Regions from separate parts of the Homo sapiens genome. Here region 1 is linked to region 2. The links are contacts of gene promoters, found by promoter capture Hi-C in human tissues and cell types (Jung and others, 2019). All regions are on one chromosome and are shown on one strand. The core of a region is centred on a gene start or on the middle of the fragment in contact, and the rest is flanking DNA. Distances in the headings are between cores, read along the strand shown.

Region 1 (2,700 bases), core at 86-2,585, 89 kb before region 2:
TATTAGTGATTTTCAAAAGGGGAGGGAGTGTACGAATAGGGTGTGAGTCACAGAGATCACATGCTTCACAAGGTAATAAGATATCACAAGGTAAATGGAGGCAGGGTGAGATCACAGGACCGGGGCAAAATTAAAATTGCTAATGAAGTTTCGAGCACACATTGTCATTGATAACATCTCATGAGCAGACAGGGTTTGAGAGCAGACAACCGGTCTGACCAAAATTTATTAGGTGGGAATTTCCTCGGCCTAATAAGCCTGGGAGTGCTACAGGAGACCAGGCTTATTTCATCCCACAGCTACGACCATAAAAGACAGCCGCCCCCAAAGCGGCCATTTTCGAGGCCTCCCCTCAGGGACACATTCTCTTTCTCAGGGATGTTCCTTGCTGAGGAAAATAATTCAGTGACATTTCTCCCATTTGCTTTTGAAAGAAGAGAAATACAGCTCTGTTGGCCTGGCTCACCAGCAGTCAGAGTTTACGGTTATCTCTCTTGTTCCCTGAACATATTGTTCAAACACACATGCTCTACAAACAATCTGTGCAGTTAACACAATTATCACAGGGTCCTGAGATGACAGACATCCTCCTCAGCTTACGAAGATGACAGGATTAAGAGATTAAAGTAAAGACAGGCATAGAAAATCACAAGGGTATTGATTGGGGAAGTGGTAAGTGTCCATGAAATCTTCACAATTTATGTTCAGAGACTGCAGTAATGACAGGCATAAGAAATTATAAAAGTATTAATTTGGGGAACTAACAAATGTCCATGAAATCTTCACAATTTACGTTCTTCTGCCATGGCTTCAGGCGGTCCCTCCGTTCGGGGTCCCTGACTTTCCGCAACATAGGACCTAACTGAAACTCCTTCAACTTACCTTGGGGAATCACTTCACTCTTCTAATCTCCCCTAGCAAATGACATTTTTTTGGAATTATAAAGAAACTTACAAGCGGGTTAGTTTATAAATTGAAAATCAAGCATAGTACAGTCTAAATAACACTTTCAAACCTCTTAACTTACCCCTAAAATACAGAACATCAGTTTTACATCAAACTTAGCCCTAGGAGATGCTTCATACTGAGAAAATCATCATGACCATATATGCCATAATAGAAACTTGGAACAACAGGTTCCTTTCTCCCATTGTATATACCCTCTGGGTCATACATATATGTATTTCTCTCTTCCTATCCATCCCTCCACTCAAAACTTATAGTGGAATTAAATGTGCATATAATGCATTTTCTCCAAGTATGCTATCTTGTTCATTTTTTATACATCTATCTCCTTAGTCATATTGTAAGTATCCCCGTAAAAAAAAAAAAAACCTGTTTAAATGTCCAGTGTTCAAATGTACACATGGTATTCTCTTGGCAAATACTTTCTGCTTACTATATTTGGTAGGATAATCCTAACATATGGGTTCCTTCAGTGAGGATAAAAACAAGGACCGAAAATGGGGCCTGAAGGAATCCTAAAGACAAGCTTTATCTGACATAAACATCTGATCTATAAAGGAGAAGTAGAGATAATAGATTTTTTAATCATGTAGCATGTAGTTAAAAGTTCAACATCTTACCTCAAAAATAAGCTAGTCCATGAAACACTCAATGCTAAATAAAGATGCTAAAGGCTCCCAGAGAATTTCACCCCAAAATATAACACCACGGTATACTATTTTAGATGCAAGGCCATTGAAGGTGATCAGATCTTGGAAGGGGCCCTACCCTAGTATTCCCTTTTCTATCTGAAGACTGGACCTGCCAAAGAGAAAACCTTCTATCCCCTCCCCCAAATGTCATTATCTATCACAGAAAATAAGAGTGAGAAATGTAACCACACCTGGACAGATGTTTCCACAGGATAATGTCTGTCTCTGAGGCGCATTGAAATTCCAAAGAAAATTCTTTATAAGTTAATTTCCATCTTCAGCATCCATTCATTCTCCCTACTAACCATCTATTACTCCTCAAAAGATTTGCCTTCATTCCCCATATCCCCACTCCCCGTGAAGAAGAGTATATAAGCATCGTTGGGCTATTGGGTAATCACACCCGTGACTTCCCCCCATCTCCACCCCTTGTGCACGTTAAATAAATTTTGTATGCTTTCTCTCCTGTTAATCTGCATTTTGTCAGTTCATTTTCAGCAAACCCTCAGAAGGTGAAGAGGAAACTTTCCCTCCTCAAACCTACAATATTGAGCCTGAATCAAAGCTCGATTTGGATATTTTTATTTCTCAGATACACCCCATACAAGCTTCAATTCCCTAGCCCCCACATCAGTCACAGATTTCATATTTTAGGAATATGGCCTTGATACAGACAATCATTCCAGGCAGCAGATAAGAGACTCTCAAAGCAATTCTTCAATTCAACCCAACCCTTACCTGTTCTCTGTTCACTGCATTGAAGAGAACTGTCTTTGCTTTACCTCTCCAGAATCAACTCGCTGAGTCCAAGAATTGGTGTCACGTTCCAATCTGCTCAATTTCTTTCTCATACTAAGTAATAGACATCCTCATCCTTCCTGCTTAGGGTTTATTTTTAAATCACTATATTGGGATTTTTGTTTGTTTTCTGGTTCCTCAAAGATAGCTTAATTGAGCAAGGTTTATCCTGCCTTTCTTGTCTTGGCTCCAAAGATACCAAGATCAAGAGACAGCTAGCCTTAGAAATTTTCTATTTATGCAT
Region 2 (2,887 bases), core at 98-2,597:
AGGAAGCAAGATCCACGCTGGCCACACAAACTGTATCTTTCCCTTTGGAACGCTGGTACATCTCATCCATGTCAAGTGACTCCCCAGTACGTTCGGTTTGATCGCCTGTTGCCCTAACACTTTTCAGGCTAAAAACTACCTTGGTGCTGGGAGACACACTGGGTGGTTGGGTTTCCTCCAAGCAGGGCTTGATACGAGGGCACAGAAGGGCAGCTAAGGGTCACGTCTCTGGGTGCACAGGGTCCAAGTCCTAATTACAGAGGAGACCGGCTGCCCTTGTCTGTGCCCCATTCTCCAGCAAAGGGGTATATCGCAGGTTTGTGATTTTTAGTACCAAACTTGGGGCGATCAATTCAATTCCCTCCACCTTATGAGAAAGCAGTAAACCGAAATCCCCGGTGGGGCACTGGGGAAATTCCTACTCGGAAGAGAAACGGAGTTAGACTGCGTGTCCCCCACGCCCTGATGTCTGCTTTCCTGGTTCCTTCCAACTCATCCTCCAAGACGAAGGGAGCCGGGCGGGAAGCAGATGCCCAGAACGGGGATTCGTCGCAGGCTTGGTTAGGGGTCCCCAGAGCTGCGCTGCGCTGCACTCAGGCTACCCGCACCAAGCATCCCCGGAAGCCTCCCCGGGATTCACCCTGCGCGGCTGCAGGGCCCGAAAGGTCATCTTCCCACGAGTGCCACCAAGGGAGCCTGGGGGAGCGAAGGCCGGGCTCGGACGCCGCCAGTCCAGAGACCCCCTCATTGCCCCTTACCTGCCCGCGGCGAATCCGGCAGCCCCCTGACAGCTCCCAGCAGCCGCCACTGGAAAAGTTTCCGAACTTCTTCGCAGGTCTGCACGCCCTCGCTGCGGGCGGACCCAACCAGGGCCAGAAGGAGGAGGCAGCGAAAGCCCACGGGCCAGGTCTGTGCGTCCATCCTCGCCGTCCTGGTCCCCTTTACCCGCCAGTGGACCCCACTCGCCCTGCGCGCCCTGGCTGAGCTGCAGACGTGGAAGACACAGCGGCCGAGGCTCTCGAGCGGTGCGAGCCGGCTGCGGGGTGTACGGACCGCCCGCGGGCACCGGCTTCACCTGGGAGCAGTTAGCTCTTCCCGGAGGAGGCCCTAAGCTGAGACACCAGAGTTTTCCAGCTGAGCACCCTCTGGTCTTCTTCCCTAGCCGAGAAGAGTGGGCGGCTGGGCGGGGCGAAGAAAACTAGTGGAGCCGCAGGGAGCCCGCAAGCATCCGCTCTGGCCACCACTGCTGCAACTGCTGCCGCTGCCGCCACTGCCGCCACTGCCGCCACTGCCGCCGCCGCCGCCGCCTCCGCCGCCCGGCTCGGCTCGCAGCAGCTAACCTGGGATGTGCCCGCTCGCTGCGCTCCGCGGAAGCCCCGCCCCGCACTCCCCGCCCCGCGGACAGGCCACGCCCCTGCCACGCCCCCGGCGCGCTGTCCCGCTCCGCACCCACTAAGATGCTGTCATACGCGGCCCAGTGCTGAAGACTCGGAGCGACATCGATGCAAATAAATAGAAGGAAACCCGGACCTCGCTCTCCCAGTCCGTTCTGGGGAAGAATCATCTGATAAAAACAGAGAATGTATAAATAGGGTCAGAGAAGACAAGAGATGAGAAACACCAACTGGAACTAAGAAATATCTCATCTATGTAATCAAGGTCCTCAGTACATAGGAATTTGTATTCTAATTGCATTAAATAGGATCTGGACATAATACAAAAGGCAAAAACTATTTACGGTTAAAGATCTCAATTGAGAGACTTCATAACACTTAGGTTGTTAAAGAGTGCACATGAGAAGTTATTTTTTAAAATGGCTTTGTTTTACTGCTTAGGAACATTTTTCTATAACATGATTTTCTGAAAGGAGGTATAAGAATTACAATCAAACTTTATCACATTCTTATCACAATGAAATCTAGTTTTAAGTCTCTTATCACCATTTAGCATCATATTTTACTTCAGCACTTTGTATTTGTGGGGCTCCTCTGAGCTTTACCACTTCTGGAATTTCTTTAAAATATTTTTCAGAGAGCAATTAAGTTAAGAGTGCTCAGGGGAGTTCCTTACAAGGAATATAGAAAAATAAATACTTTAAGCAATTTTAAAATGGCAAAGGAATTTTGTCAATTTACAGTTTATGAGAGGAATGCATTACGCACCATAAACCAAAGGGCAGGTGCATTTTTTAAATGTGGTTGACTCAACAACTAAGCCTGTAAGAGTGTCTCAATCTACAGCCACTTGAAGAGAGTACTCCTTCTGTAAAATAAACTAGTTAAAAGCATCAGGCAGAGGGGACAATGAATGCTTTAACCACTTTAAGGAATTTCATCTCAAATTTGAACCCTTACCAAGAGATAGTAGTGAAAAACTTTATGTCTTAGTGAAGATTTTTAATGAACATTTAATATCAAAGGCAGCACTTTCAGCAGTATATCACTTGCTTTAAAACCATTCCAGGGCAATGGCTGAAACACTGCTTCAGAGTGAAATCATGCTACTTGGTGTTTGGCATCAGTTTTCTGAATATGAGATTTTGTTTCAAAGGGCAGTGCTCTTCATGAATCTCTTCTGCTCTAACCACCAAGTATGGAAAGATTGTCTGGAAGCCACCTATATCTATGAAAAGAAACAAGAAAAACCATGAGAATGTATATAGTGCTTATGGGCCAGATAATATTCTAAGTATTTTATGGAAATGAATTCACTCATGTAATCTTTATAACAACCTTATAAAGTAGTTACTACTATTATCATTGTTTTACAGATGAGGAAACAGGAACACAGAGGTGAAGTGACTTACTGAATGCCTAAGGTAAGTGACAAAGCCAGAAATCAAACTGAGGCTTCCAAATCCAGACCGCATGCTCTTCTCCAGAGGCTC

Evidence for each region. Contacts are between HindIII fragments. The study calls those that stand out against the background at their distance.
Region 1: a fragment that was not itself captured here is called in contact with the fragment with the promoter of GPC5 in region 2 in 5 of the 25 tissues and cell types used here (adrenal gland, aorta, lymphoblastoid cells and 2 more).

Annotation. Positions count from the first base shown.
Region 1 is chr13:91,486,564-91,489,263 of GRCh38, reverse strand. The region is part of intron 2 of GPC5 (glypican 5); the gene reads right to left. Among named protein-coding and RNA genes, the nearest start is that of GPC5, 89 kb to the right of the region's middle. The HindIII fragment of the contact is 4,390 bases long and covers 1-2,700 here.
Region 2 is chr13:91,397,081-91,399,967 of GRCh38, reverse strand. It overlaps GPC5 (glypican 5), which reads right to left and starts at 1,347. Exons shown (of 8, transcript NM_004466.6): 1 at 759-1,347. The coding sequence starts at 921. LOC124903189 (a long non-coding RNA gene) reads right to left here. Exons shown (of 2, transcript XR_007063831.1): 1 at 2,807-2,887; 2 at 2,380-2,622. RefSeq lists silencers at 1,263-1,532, 1,239-1,533. The HindIII fragment of the contact is 16,121 bases long and covers 1-2,887 here.